Regions from separate parts of the Homo sapiens genome. Here regions 1, 2 and 4 are each linked to region 3. Evidence: promoter capture Hi-C in human tissues and cell types (Jung and others, 2019). All regions are on one chromosome and are shown on one strand. The core of a region is centred on a gene start or on the middle of the fragment in contact, and the rest is flanking DNA. Distances in the headings are between cores, read along the strand shown.

Region 1 (2,528 bases), core at 1-2,500, 300 kb before region 3:
AGCCTCACGCTGGCTGCTCACAGGTGGTGGAGAAGATACCACTGCCCTTTTTTGCCATGTCCCTGAGCCTGTCCCCCGGGACCCACCTCCTGGCTGTTGGCTTTGCTGGTGAGTGCTGGTGGATGCAGTTTGGGCCTGTCTTAGGTGGGGGCCAAGTGGGCTGACTGGTGCCCTGTTCCAAGACAGGTGCCTCACCTGTGCCCCGGGCTCCTCGTCTCTGGGGTGGGGTGAGGACATCTGCCCTAGAGAGGGTCCTGGAGTCAGGAGATGATGAGGCAGGTGAGGAACCAGGCACAGCGCCCAGCACAGGGCCTGAATGCACGGGTGGCAGCGACTTTTAAGGAGGGAACTGGCCCAGCTGCAGGCCGACAGCCTGGCAGTGATGGACCCCCTAGTCCCAGTGGCACGTGGAGGGCACAGCCAGGAGCCCTTTTAGCACCAGCTCCCCCGACCAGCATCATGCCCAGTGGGGACAGTCTGGGTGGGTTGGGGGAGCCCTCTGAGTGCTGCCTGGTCCTGGCCCTGGCCCACCTGCACCGTCTACCCACAGAGTGCATGCTGAGGCTGGTAGACTGTGCCATGGGGACTGCCCAAGACTTTGCCGGCCACGACAACGCAGTGCACCTGTGCAGGTTTACACCGTCCGCCAGGCTGCTCTTCACGGCCGCCCGCAACGAGATCCTTGTGTGGGAGGTCCCCGGCCTCTGAGATGCAGCAGGGACTGTGGTGGTGGGCATCACGCCTGGTCATGCCAGGCACCTGGACACAGGCTTGGCAGAGGCGCCAGGTTGTCAATGGCCTCATGCTGGGACAGGCCAGGATTCACGTAAATCGCCTGGAGCAAGCTGTTGTAAATTTGGCGCCCTGTGAATACTTTCATACCTGTTGCCCTTTTGCCTAAGAAATCTTTAATGTTTCTATCTTGTAATAAACATGGGCATTTATTGCATTATTGCTGCATTGTTGCACTGGCTGTCTCTGGTCACTCCTGGCCTGAGCTCAGCCTCTGCCCGTCCCTTAATCGGCTGTTTGTCAAGGCCCCTGTGGTGCCGTGAAGCAATGGCCGCTCGGCCTGCCAGGGCGCCAGGACCCTGCGCTGTCCGCCGTGGCCGGCGCGTCCACACGGTGGCGCGCCGCACAGCCTGTCCGCTCTGGCCCGCCCGGCTCGCTGGTGCGGCTGTGCGGGCGGGGCCGGAAGTGTGGGGACAGCGCGGGGCCGAGAACCGGAAGTGCGGGGCGGGCGCGGGGGCAGAGCGAAAGGCTTGAGGACCAGGTCGGGGCCGGGTTCCGGGTCGGGGAGCGGCTCCGGGCGGCAGCTATGAGGCGGGACGTGCGCATCCTGTTACTGGGCGAGGGTAGGCGCCGGCCCGGGGGTCTCGGAGCTGCGGCGGCCGTGAGGCGGGGTGAGGGTCTCGGGGGTCGGGGGGCGCCGTGACCTTGGCCCTCGCGCTGACCGCCTCGCCCCGCGCAGCCCAGGTGGGGAAGACGTCGCTGATCCTGTCCCTGGTGGGCGAGGAGTTCCCCGAGGAGGTAAGGGGCACGCCCGCCGCGGGGGTGGGAGCGGGCCCAGCCGGGGGTCCCTGGTGAGCGCGCGGGTCCCTTGCAGGTCCCTCCCCGCGCGGAGGAGATCACCATCCCCGCGGACGTCACCCCGGAGAAGGTGCCCACCCACATCGTGGACTACTCAGGTAGCGGCCGTAGCCTCCCGGGGGCCCGGCCCGCAGCGGTCCGGCGGGCCTGCTGGGTCCGCAGTGGAGTCTCTTTGTCCCCCTAGAAGCCGAGCAGACGGACGAGGAGCTGCGGGAGGAGATCCACAAGGTACCCGTGGTGCGCGGGACGAGGGAGGGGCTGGGCGCGGGCTCGGCCTAATCCGCTTCGCAGCCTGGGGGATTGGACCGAGGTGCTCCGGGTGTCCTTGGCCCTGATAATTCTGTGACCTCCGCACTGAGGGTTGTCGGGGCCCCTACAGCGCACCCCGCTGGGAGCCGGCACCGCTCAGTCCAGTGGTGCTCCAGGGATAACAGGACCCTTCCCCGCGGGCTCTCCCTCCCTCCTGCCGGGGTGGCAGCAGCGTTTGCTCTTCCTGTGGGCTCTGTGTGCGCCACGTCCCCGTGCTGTGTGCTCCAGCCCACCGTCCCGGCCTCCGGGCACCCGGAGCTCCCAGTACCAGAGCACGTGTGCCGGGGACATCTCCAGGCAAGGGCACAGGCCACAGCCACCCAGGGCAGCCCCTGCTGTTGGCACCCCTCACTGCGGTCCTGTCACTCTGTCTGTAGCGAGGGGGGAGGCAGGGGCCAAGGCGGCGGCTGTCTTGCAGGGTGTTGGGTTGCAGGTGTGGCCGTGTCTGTCCTGAGCCCTCTGCTCCAAGGGTCTTGCTGACCACAGTTATGCTTCTGGGGCCTGGTGTCCCTGCACTGGCAGTGGGCGGGGAAGAGGCTTCTCTGAGGGTTCAGCAGCAGCTCCCAGTGTGACACTGGGGAGTGCCTGCTCTGCCAACACCAGGCTGGAGGCAGGTTTTAGGGAAGGCT
Region 2 (3,306 bases), core at 236-2,735, 440 kb before region 3:
AAGCTGGGGAGGACAGGGTCCCAGAGCCTTGTCCAAGTTGCAGAGAGGAGAGCCAGCTCTCACTCTGCAGCCCTCTGTGCCCCCAGACCCCCACTGGCCCCCGGGGACACATTTCCTGCCCTTGGGATGCTTTGGCATGGATATAGTCTGGGAACAAACGGCACATCCAGCTGCCCTGCCTGTCTCCACAGAGGGGGCAGCAGACCTAGGGGGAGGTGTCCAAGACACAGGAATGAAGTGTCCTTACCAAAAGCTTCCGAGGACAGAAATAAACCCCTCCTGCCAGCTTCTGCACTGACTGCAGCTAGAAGCCGAGCTCCACGTGGGACACAGGTGTCCCTGCTGCGGCATCTCAGCATGACGGAGGCCCATCCTTGGCTTTCCTGGAGCATGAATATCCTCTGAGGAGCACTGGCCCTGGCCTTGTAGGTCTTGCTGAGACTGGCTTAGATTTTCTGGCCCAGGAGCAATCGTCACCCAACCTCCCACTTGTAAATCTCGCCACAGAATCGGCCCACAACCGTCTCTCCGGAATCTCGGCGGACCAGCCCTGCTCCTGTGTCTCCCTCTCCCGCAGAGCCACTGCCTTCTCAGGCTCCTCAAGTGCACCTAAGAGCGGGAGTCTGGCTGCCCTCAGCACTCGCGTCCCGCCCTGCAGCCTGATAAGCTTGACGCCAAGGCATTCTCCCGAGAGCCGGCCCAGCAGCTGCTGGCAGGAGAGTGGCCTCAGGGCAGCGGGAAGGGGACCTCCGGGGAGAGAATGAGGCCTGCGCAAGGGTCCTGGAAGGACCCAGGAGTCGCCCCGGCTTCCCTCCCCCAGGCCCTGGTTGGGCGCCGTGGGCCGCGTCCCAGTTGAGCCCGGCGTGGCCGTTTAATGGCGTCCCTCCGCGACCGAGGACGAAGGGGCCTAGAGAGGCTGTGCCCAAGCGACGCTGCGAGGCCAGGCCGCGTCTCGGGCCAGGGCGGTCCCCTTGCCACCGCCGCTCTTGGCCGCCAGGACCAAGCACAGCACGCAGCGTCGCGAAAGGGGCGGTCCTGGAAGGCGCGAAGGGGTCTCCGGGTCTCGCGAACACGGCGGGGTCGGGGCGGAGTCGTGGGTCCTCGGTCGAGCGGCCGCCCAGAGCCCCGCGGGACACGGACGGCCCCAGCCCGGCTCCCCGCGAGCCCCACGCGTCTGTGACGCCGCTGATGCGCAGACGCCGCGGCTGCAGGCCCCGCCCCTCCGTGCCCCTCGCAAGGCCCTCTGGGAGTTGTAGTTCCAGCTCCTCCTCGGGCCGCCCCACTCCCTGATAATCCTGGAGCGCGGCGCCTCCCGGGGACCGAGGCCTCGGGCCCGGCCGTCTCCAGCAGCGAGGGCAGGAGAAGTGGCCCGGGCGGTCGGCGGACTGGGAGGGCGCCACCCGAGGACTACAACTCCCGGCCTGCCTCGCGCAGGCACCGCCCCGAGCTTCCGCCCCGTCGGCGCCGCGCAGCCCTGTGGGAGCCGTAGTCCGGGCGCGCGATTCACAGCGCCGCGTGCGCCCCGGGCGCGCCGTAGCCGCGGGGCCCGGGCCGGGCGCTACGCTACGAAGGCAGCGTAAGGCGGGCGCCGGACGCGGGCAGGGGCCGGGGCCGGAGCCGGGTCGGGGCGCCCCGCGGCTGAGGAGCGGGAGGCCGTCCGGGCAGCGCGGCCGGCGGCGAGAGGGGCCCCGCCGCTCTCCGGAGGCAGAAGTTGTGGATCGGCCGGCGGGGGCGAGCGGGCCCGGGGGCCGGGGCCGCGCTGCCCGGGCCGCGAGGACGAGGCGGCGCCGCCGGGCTGTGGAGGTGAGTCCCGTCGGCCGGGCCCGGCCGGGCGCCCAGCCGGGGACCCCGGGCGGGGAGCGCGGGCCCGGAGGGCGGCGGGGAGCGCGGGCTCGGCGGGGCGCAGGAGGCCTCGGGGGCCGGGCGCGCCGGGCTCCGAGCCAGGGCAGGGACGGCAGGGCCCCCGGAGTGGGGTCAGCCCGCCGCCCGCTGGCGCCTCCAGGCTGGTGGGGGCCAGGGCTGGGCGATGCTTCGCAGAGGAACCCAGAGGAAGGCGGGAAGTCGGCAGGGACCTGGGCCATGTGGGTCACTTGAGGCCAGCCCCGGGGGCCGCGCACACCGGAGGCGGCCTCGGCCCTGCCTGCCCTTGAGTGCCCTTATATCCGGGCCCATCGTGCGGTCCTGGCCGCCTTAGGGATGTTGTGCTTGGTGCGGGCATCACTCCCCTCACTTGGGGAACGGCCTGGGGGCGGCCACCTGGCGTGGAGGGGCTGGCGGGAGCCCCGTCTGTGCCAGCCATGCCAGTGTTCTCTTCCGTGTTCCTCTGGGGCTGCTGCGGCACCAGCTGGGAAGTTGCAAATCTGCTGTCCTCCCGCTGGCTGCAGAAGGGGCCCCTCTAGTCCTGACCGGGGGAACTCTTGTGTGGTCAGCTGGCCCTGGCCGGGCGAGCTCTCGGGGCCCCCTTACTGCTCTGGAGTTTGTTACCGGACTGCAGGTAACAAGACCCGGAAAGCAATGGTGAGGCCCAGAACCTGAGGCCAGGCCTGGGTGTGTGGGGCCAGTGGGGAAGACTGGGACTCCGTTGGGTGCTGAAGAGTTGTGTGCTTCTCCTTCGGGAAACCCGGATCTCTTCCTCTGCCCAGGTCTGAGGGGTGCGGAAACGTGAGTCACAGTTCAGTGTGGGAGTGCCCCGTAATTGCCTCCGCGTTTCCAGAGTCTGGGGCTGGGCAAGGATATAGGGGTGATTCTCCCTTCCGGTTCTGAGTGACTTCTCAACTGTGAAGTGGGGCAAGAGAAATTGTTTTTCTGGCCTGTCTGGGGGAGGCAGGTCCTGCAGGAAACCAGCTTGGCCTGGCCTTGGGTTGGGTGTGCCTTGCCTCCTCCGAGGTCCTTCTGCTTGCGGGAGGAGCACCCCTCTTTTTCCTGCTTCTGTCTGTGTCTGAGGCTCTCCAGAGCTCCTTGATTGGCAGAGGAGCCAGTGACCTCTGAGTCCCCAGGAGAGCCCGAGGCTCAGTAACTGCATAACTGCGCAGGGCCTCTTGTCTGGGCCTCCACAGACCGTGGTCTCTGAGAGCAGGAAGTGGCTGGTCCCCTGTAATGCTGCATCTGTGTGACAGCCTCAAGCCCTGCTGGCTCTCTCTCCGGGCACCCCTCACTTGCTTCTTGCCCTGGCCTTGGGCAGCACTCCGGTAACCCCAGTGCCACAGGTGAGGAACCGAAGCTGGAGACAGCTGTTCATGGCAGGGGAGGGGCCGAGGGAGGCTGAGCGCCTGGTCTCTCCCTCCTGCTGGTTCCACCAGTTCACAC
Region 3 (3,617 bases), core at 975-3,474:
AGCAGGCATGGCCGATAAATACTTTGTTTCAGAATCAGAAAGAAATAGCTGGGCGTGGCAGCCTGTGCCCGTAGCCCCAGCTACTCGGGAGGCTGAGGCAGGAGAATCTCTTGAAATCGGAAGGCGGAGGTTGTAGTGAGAGGAGATTGCACCACTGCACTGCAGCCTGGGCGAAAAAGTGAAACTCTGTCTCAAAAAAAAAAAAAAAAAAAGAATCAGAAAAAAAAAATCAGCTTTCTCTTTTCTCCTTTCAGATAAATTGTTGTAAGATTAAAACAGTCATCCCAGAAATGCCGTTCTCTGTTGATGGTTCTTACTGGCCGTGGTTAAATTCTGGGCCTCAGCACAGTGACCTCAAGTATTTTTTCTTTAAGGGATGTGCTGCAGAGCTCCGAAGTAGGGCAGTGCTGTTTGCTTTTTAAACAAGCAAGTATTTTATAGAAGAACTTGTAAAACCAAGTGGTGCATTTCATTAGAACTCAAGTGGCCCGGAGAAAAGAAAAAGAACTCATTTCCCATGAGCTCTTAGAGCCACTGAAAGCTCAGAACAAAACCAACTGAGCAGGGTTTCAAGTATTCTTTTTGGTTTCATTTTCTCCTCAAATTTTCTGAAGAACAGCTGAGAGTTTAGCAAATACGGGTGCAAACGATTCTGCCTGCCACGTCAACCCTGCCTCGGGTGTCATCTGACGAGGATGCCAAGCTACAAGGGCTGCGGTGAGACTCAGAGACACGCTACCAATGGCACCGCGGCCCCACCTCGCCGAAGCAGCTGCCGGGGAGACGCGATAAAACTGCCCCACGCGGAAAAGAAGGAAGGGCGGTGAGCAGGCGCACAGAACAGACGCCACAGTGCGGCACGCATGCCTCCACGCCTAAAGGACAAAACTAGCATGGAGATCCCCTAGAGGTCGGATTTTCAACATAATCTCAGTGAGCCCAGGACTCCAATGTGACAATGTGGAACTGGAAAGACGAGCAAGAAAAGCCCCTCCGTTCCCGCCAGCGTTGGGCATTCCTTCTGCAGTCCAGGCTGTCCCCGTCACTCGGGATCACAGCCAAGCGGTGGGTTCTGTGTGGTGCTTGGCTCCTAGGGCCTCGCGGAAGCCATGTTCTTCTCCATTCAGCTTCATGGAGAGACTTTCCCAGGTTTCAGCCCACGCTACGAAGCTAGACAGGAGAGTGGCCCCCACCCGCCCTGTTTGGAACCCAGCTGGGGCATGCGGTGTTTGGAACACATGGGCAGATTGGGGAGAGGCCAGAAGAGCCTCATCCAGAGCCAAGGACAAGCCTTGAGGCTGAAGAGCTCACCAAGGCCACTACAAGAGAGCAAAAAAAAGAGCCTCAGAGACTCCTCGATAAATAACCAGAACAGAGAGCAAAGGTGGAGAGCAGGAGGGCAAGGCACTGAGACTTTAGAAGCTTCCAGGGAGAAGAAGAGTCAGATGCTTGAAGATGCCTCCTCAATGCTGCAAAGCTCTGAGGGAAAGTGGCTTTGATGGAGAATTAGAGATCCGGGCAAGTTGGTCCTTTCTGGAAAAGCTGCTTGGGGATACACTCCAGCAAAAAGAGAATCCACCAGCAAACAGGAAGGCATGAGCAGCCCAGGAAGTATGAACACAACCAAGGGAGGGCTGTGGCAGTATCTGTCCTGCTGGGCCGCACCTCGGGGCTGGAGGTGGGTAGAGGGGAAAGAAGGGGTAATGGCTGGAAAAGTGTCCCATGCTGACACTAAGCCCTGGTAGAGACCACCTGCTACGGGTCAGCACATTTCACTGAGCAGGAGATGCCCCTAGAAGACAAGGGATAGAGGTATAAAGAAAGTCCTCTCCCTGACTGCAAGGAGCTAGAGGGGAGACAGGCACAAGAACAACACTGGAATGGGGACAATATCAGCCGCAAAGGAAGCAGAGAGCAGGGCTCCGGTGGTCAGCCCTGGGTGGGGTCAGGAGTCCACGAGTGATGAGGGCTAAGTCTGAAGGCCAGAAGGGTGTCGGCAGCCACGGAGAGAACAAGTACAGTTAACCCTGGGAAGGCAGAGGCCAGGTGGTCTCAGGACCACGGTCAGGAAGAGATGCCTCACGTGGCGGGGACACAGCGGGAGCAGTTCAGGCACCACGGCTCGTCCACTGGGGCCCCAGCCTCTCACTGCAAGCAGTGCAGGTGGACATCTGCCCCAGAGGCAGCAGGGAGCGTGTGTCCCAAAGCCCCCAGCACTCATGCCCTGTGCAGGCGCCGAGCAGCCGGCCCTGGCCGGGGCGGTTCCCTCCTAGGCCTGTCCAGGACTCGGCCCCCACAAACACATGGACCGACAGACGAAATCCCTCAGGAGTGTCTCTGCGCCGACGCCATGGCACCCACGAAAAGTGCCACACATAAAGTCAGTCTGCAAATGCCAACGTTACCCAGTCTTCATGTCACATTTCACCTACAGATCCCTTCCGAATTGTAACAATATCTCATAAATGTTTGAGCTTCAAAGGAAAGGTCCTTTCCGACGTTCAGATATATATACTCCGTGGCTGCCTGCGAGCCGTCTCCCAGGCGGGTGTGTCCTTGGTCCGCCTTCTGGGAAGTGTGCACAGGCAAGGAATCCCATGTCAGCCTCAGGACGGCCCAGCGGTCACTCTCACCTCATCAGTGACAGGAAGGTCTTGATGAGCAACTTGGCCAAGGCCACACAGCTAAGGTGTGGCCCACCAACCCTGAGCCCCACTACTTCCACCTGTCACAGCTTCCAGAAAGTTCTCTGCAGTGAACTGCTATCAACCCAATTCTGACCAACTGTAATTACACTGTTTCCAGATAACACCTTAATTCTGAGGCAGTTAAAATGCATTGTGTACATATACTATGTGACTCTCATCAATAGCAAACCAACGTCAGTTCAGTCCAGGAGAACCCACCCAGGGTGGGCAGCTCTAGCCTAGGGTGTCTTCAGTAGCACCTGCAAGGCTGTCCTTCCCCCGTCTTGTCAGGGAATCCAGCTCTACCACTGGCGCTGTAACAGACACAGGGCTGCTGGAAATTCCAGGAGTCCAGCCCCAGCTGCCTGTGGCCGCCCATGGACGGACCTGGCCAGGCCCCCTGGGAGGGGGATTTCAAAGCATCAAGGAGCCGGCCTGGCTGACGAGGCTCCAGACCAGCTGTTTGCCACACACGCCCCCGTACTGCAGGGTTGACCAGTGAGGGCCTCAATCTTCCGCAGGGAACGCCGGGCCACAACGTCGACGCACGACCCTGGGGGTTCCTGCCATAAAACAGTGAGGGATTCTGGCCAGGCTGCTCTGCCCTCTGTTCCGGTGAGCCTGGGCATGGTGCCCACTCTTGGGTTCGGTTTCCTTATTGCGCACACAGACAGCAGCAGGCCTGACTGCAGGAGGCACCGGCACCCATGGGCGGCCGGCACTGCCCCTACACACCAAGAACATGGCACCCAGGTCCCGCTGCTTAGGCCGGAAACTCCTGTCACATAAGCTTTTACTCGTCCAGATTTCAGCCATTCCTGGGAGTGACATCTGTGCTGAGGGGAAGCTCAGTGTCAGTGTCAGGCATCCCCGACCACCTCGGGCAGCCTCGGTCCTCCCAGGAGCCGTCACGGCCCGAGAACGCCGCTG
Region 4 (3,653 bases), core at 496-2,995, 340 kb after region 3:
TGAGTGAGGGAGGCAGGGAATGAATGAGGGAGGGTGGGAATGAATGAGGGAGGGAATGAATGAATGAGGGAGGGAATGAATGAATGAGGGAGGGAGGGAATGAGGGAGGGAGGGAATGAATGAATGAGGGAGGGAATGAACGAATGAGGGAGGGAATGAATGAGGGAGGAATGAGTAAGTGAGGGAGGGAATGAGTTTGTGAGAGTGGGAATGAGTGAGGGAGGGAGGGAATGAATGAATGAGAGAGGAAATGAGTGAGGGAGGGAATGAGTGAGGGAAGGAATGAATGAGTGATGGAGGGAATGAATGAATCAGTGAGGGAGGGAATCAGTGAGGGAGGGAATGAGTGAGTGAGGGAGGGAGGGAATGAATGAGAGAGGGAATGAGTGAGGGAGGGAAGGAATGAATGAGGGTGGGAATGAATGAATGAGGGCGGGAATGAATGAATGAGGGCGGGAATGAGTGAGAGTGAGAATGAGTGAGTGAGGGAGGGAATGAATGAGTGAGGGAGGGAATGAGTGAGGGAGGGAATGAGTGAGTGAGGGAGGGAATGAGTGAGGGAGGGAATGAGTGAGTGAGGGAGGGAATGAGTGAGTGGGAATGAATGAGTAAGTGAGGGAGGGAATGAGTGAGTGAGGGTGGCAATGAATGAGTAAGTGAGGGAGGGAATGCGTGAGAGAGGGAAGGAATGATTGAGTGATGGAGGGATCGAATGAATGAGGGAGGGAGGGAATTAGTGAGGGAGGGAGGGAATTAGTGAGTGAGGGAGGGAATGACGGAGTAGGGGAGGGAATGAATGAATGAGTGAGGGAGGGAATGAATGAATGTGGTCACTCCCCGCGGTCCCCAAGCACCCGGACACCGTGACCTTGGCTGCGGCCCCGCCGTCGGCGAAATGCGGGCGGGGGGGCCGGGAGAGCCCGGGGGCCAGCACGGTCGCGCGTTGGCGAACGGACTGTCCCGCGCGCTCGCGGGTCTGGGGGCCTCCCGACCCGGTCCTGCTTGTTGCGTGGGCGGGAGGGGGGACCGGAAGCGCCCCTCCCCCACGGGCTCGCCCCGCCCCCGCCGCTCGCGGTCCCCCACGTCCCGCCCGCGCCCCGGCCCAGGGCCAGCCCCCGGTTTAGGGAGCATCCACACTTCTCCTCCCGTCGGTCATGCTCGCATTCGGCCTTTTGTACGGGGTCAGCTCATTGGGCGGATGAGAAGGTGTCCCCGCCTACCGCCCCGAACTGGCCAATTGCAAGGGGTTTCACAGGGCGCTGAACTCGCGGGAGCGTCACCGTCCTGCGACGCTTCAGAGGATCCTTAGGCCTCAGTGGTCTTTGACCCCCGGCCCCAGGACCTGACCCCAAGGAAACCTCCGGGACCTGTGGCTGGAGAGGTGACCGCCAGGCATCCGGGGAGCCTTTGGAGATCTCGGCTTCCTTTTTCCCCCGCTGCTTGCCGGCGTGTCCTCGGGTGGACGCGGGCAGCCCGAAGGGGAGTTTACAGACGCTCCCTCACATCGGGGACGCGGCTCCTTTAAGGGCGTAGGTGTCCAGGGCGCCGCCTGACTGGAAAGTCGCCCCCCGGCCGGGCTCCTGGGGCGGACCCGGGGCGCGGGCGCGCGGCGGCGGGGCGCGGGCAACGGGGAGCGCTCGGCGGCGCGGGAGGCGCTCGGGGCCGGGCGGCAGGAGCGGCGCGCGAGGCAGGCGTGCAGAGGGCAGCCCCGCGTTAGGCCCCGCCCCGCGCGCCCCGCCCGCGCCAGGGTCCTCGGAGCTGCTCTGGCTGCGCGCGGAGCGGGCTCCGGAGGGAAGTCCCGAGACAAAGGGAAGCGCCGCCGCCGCCGCCCCGCTCGGTCCTCCACCTGTCCGCTACGCTCGCCGGGGCTGCGGCCGCCCGAGGTGAGCGCGTGCGGGGGCCGGGCCGGGGCCGCGGGGCGGGGGTCGGGCCGAGGCCTCTACTCCTGTTGGGCCCGGGCCCCCGACTGCCCCGCGCCCCGCCCCGCCGAGCCGGGCCCCGCGCCGCGGCCGAGCTTTCCGGGGAGCCCGAGAGGCCCCGCGCTCGGCGCCGGCTCGGTCCGCGCTGCTGGCGCCGCTGGGCTGCGGCCCGAGCGGCCGGGCCGCCGCAGGCCTTCGGGGCCGGGGCTCCCCCACTTCGCCCCCGAGGTGCGCCTGGCGCGGGGCCGGGGCAGCCACCTGCAGCCGGGGCCCCGCGAGGCCGCGCCTTCCTCCTGCGCGGGGAGCGGCTTCCGGGGTCACGGTCGCCCCGCGGACGGATAGGATGGGCCGCGGGGGGAGAGTCTTGGATTGCAACATCGCTGGCTCGCGGGGGTGGGGGCCGGCGAGCGGGCTTGTTTTCGGTGCCTTAAAACCAAAACAAGTGTAAGTTTTCTTGTGCCTCTGAAGATGCTCCGCTGGCGCTTGCTGGGGCCCTGAACGTGAGCGCCTCGCTGGAGGGGGAGTTTTATTCTGTTTTGGACATCTCTTTTTATCGGTTGAATAGTAGTTGGTTCTGGTAGTTAACGTGCGTAGGAGGAATGTAAGGGAATGATTAGTTGGGCTTGTGATCGTGGCCTGTAGTCACGCTTGAATCGCAGAATGAAGTGGTTTTGTTTGTATAATTGGAAGTTACGCTTAGTTTCTCTGTTTGCAAAGTGCCTGTCTTTGGGGAGTTCGGTTTGTTTCCTTTTACAGGACCTACCCCAAGTGTTTCTTGCTCTTCAAGAAACGTTGCCTTTGGGTAGAGAACCTATGCAACGGAAGACGGGACGGATCCTCAGTTTGCCCTGATTGCTCATTCAGAGAGGTCCGTTCCCTAGGCCACTGGGTGATTGCTGGTGTGCGCTTGTATGGTGTCTCAGGGTTTGGGATCTTGCTTCAGAAACATTCTCGGGGCCTGGGGCAGATCAGGTGCGGCCAGGTAAGCGTCTCCCGACTGCAGGTGCTTGGGTCTTGCAGAAGGGAATACCTCCCCAAGCCTGGGAGAGTTTGCATTTGGGTGCAGGAGGGCCTTTAAAGGCTTCTTGTGCCAGCCTGTCGTGGCGACCACCCGTTGTGGAGATCAGTGCGGTGGAGTTGTGGGAGGTGAGTGCTTTGCTCACCCTCAGCCAGGAAGTTGCTCTGAAGTCGGTGCTGTCAACCAGCAGAGCAAGGCGGTGATCCGAGAAGCTAAAGCTCAGCCGGTTGCGGGCGCCCAGCAGGAGGACAGAAGGCAGACTTTCGGGCCGCTCCTGGAGTGCCCGGCCCTGTCCCCGTTTCTGCAGTGTCTGGGCCTTGCCTGGCTCTAATAGATGAGGGTTGTTTTTGTCTTTGCATCATAAAAGTTTCTTGCTCTGAAGCGTTTAGTAACTACTAGCCGTTCACTAAGTGCCTATCTGTGAATTTGGAAGGGCAAATTCGATTTTCAGCGGAATTTTGAACGCTTGATCTGTGTTGTGATTACATTGTAACAGATTGGCCGCTTTCTCCAGAAGGCCAGTAGGAGGGGGTGCAGGGGGAGGGGCCTGGCTTCTGTCTGGGACACGGTGGGTGTGCACCTGTGGCTCCTTGCCCTGGCGGTGCAGTGCCTGTGAGACCACCCCGTGGTGCTGAGTGCTTTGGGGCAGGGGACACAGCAGCAGCAGCCAGGTCTTGGCAGGAGGTCTCGCAGGACCACCCCTCACGACTTCTCAC

The links. The method cuts DNA at HindIII sites, captures the fragments that hold promoters and counts their contacts. A contact is called where the count stands out against the background at its distance.
Region 1: the fragment with the promoter of RHOT2 here is called in contact with a fragment that was not itself captured in region 3 in 4 of the 25 tissues and cell types used here (dorsolateral prefrontal cortex, lymphoblastoid cells, spleen and 1 more).
Region 2: the fragment with the promoter of CAPN15 here is called in contact with a fragment that was not itself captured in region 3 in 1 of the 25 tissues and cell types used here (aorta).
Region 4: a contact is called between the fragment with the promoter of UBE2I here and a fragment that was not itself captured in region 3, in 1 of the 25 tissues and cell types used here (lymphoblastoid cells).

What each region holds. Positions count from the first base shown.
Region 1 is chr16:666,882-669,409 of GRCh38, forward strand. RHOT2 (ras homolog family member T2) reads left to right here and starts at 1,251. Exons shown (of 19, transcript NM_138769.3): 1 at 1,251-1,355; 2 at 1,472-1,530; 3 at 1,607-1,688; 4 at 1,775-1,818. The coding sequence starts at 1,319. It overlaps WDR90 (WD repeat domain 90), which reads left to right. Exons shown (of 41, transcript NM_145294.5): 40 at 24-108; 41 at 551-949. The coding sequence ends at 708. RefSeq lists an enhancer at 962-1,643 and silencers at 1,029-1,368, 1,429-1,528, 1,629-1,718. The HindIII fragment of the contact is 52,780 bases long and covers 1-2,528 here.
Region 2 is chr16:526,227-529,532 of GRCh38, forward strand. CAPN15 (calpain 15) reads left to right here and starts at 1,486. Exons shown (of 14, transcript NM_005632.3): 1 at 1,486-1,803. LINC00235 (long intergenic non-protein coding RNA 235) reads right to left here and starts at 1,181. Exons shown (of 1, transcript NR_024121.1): 1 at 621-1,181. RefSeq lists an enhancer at 45-606. The HindIII fragment of the contact is 8,144 bases long and covers 461-3,306 here.
Region 3 is chr16:964,103-967,719 of GRCh38, forward strand. All of the region lies in intron 1 of LMF1 (lipase maturation factor 1), which reads right to left. Among named protein-coding and RNA genes, the nearest start is that of LMF1, 5.1 kb to the right of the region's middle. The HindIII fragment of the contact is 3,168 bases long and covers 641-3,617 here.
Region 4 is chr16:1,307,891-1,311,543 of GRCh38, forward strand. It overlaps UBE2I (ubiquitin conjugating enzyme E2 I), which reads left to right and starts at 1,746. Exons shown (of 7, transcript NM_003345.5): 1 at 1,746-1,883. RefSeq lists silencers at 815-1,104, 1,595-1,894, 2,095-2,284 and enhancers at 1,315-1,554, 2,256-2,867. The HindIII fragment of the contact is 23,762 bases long and covers 1-3,653 here.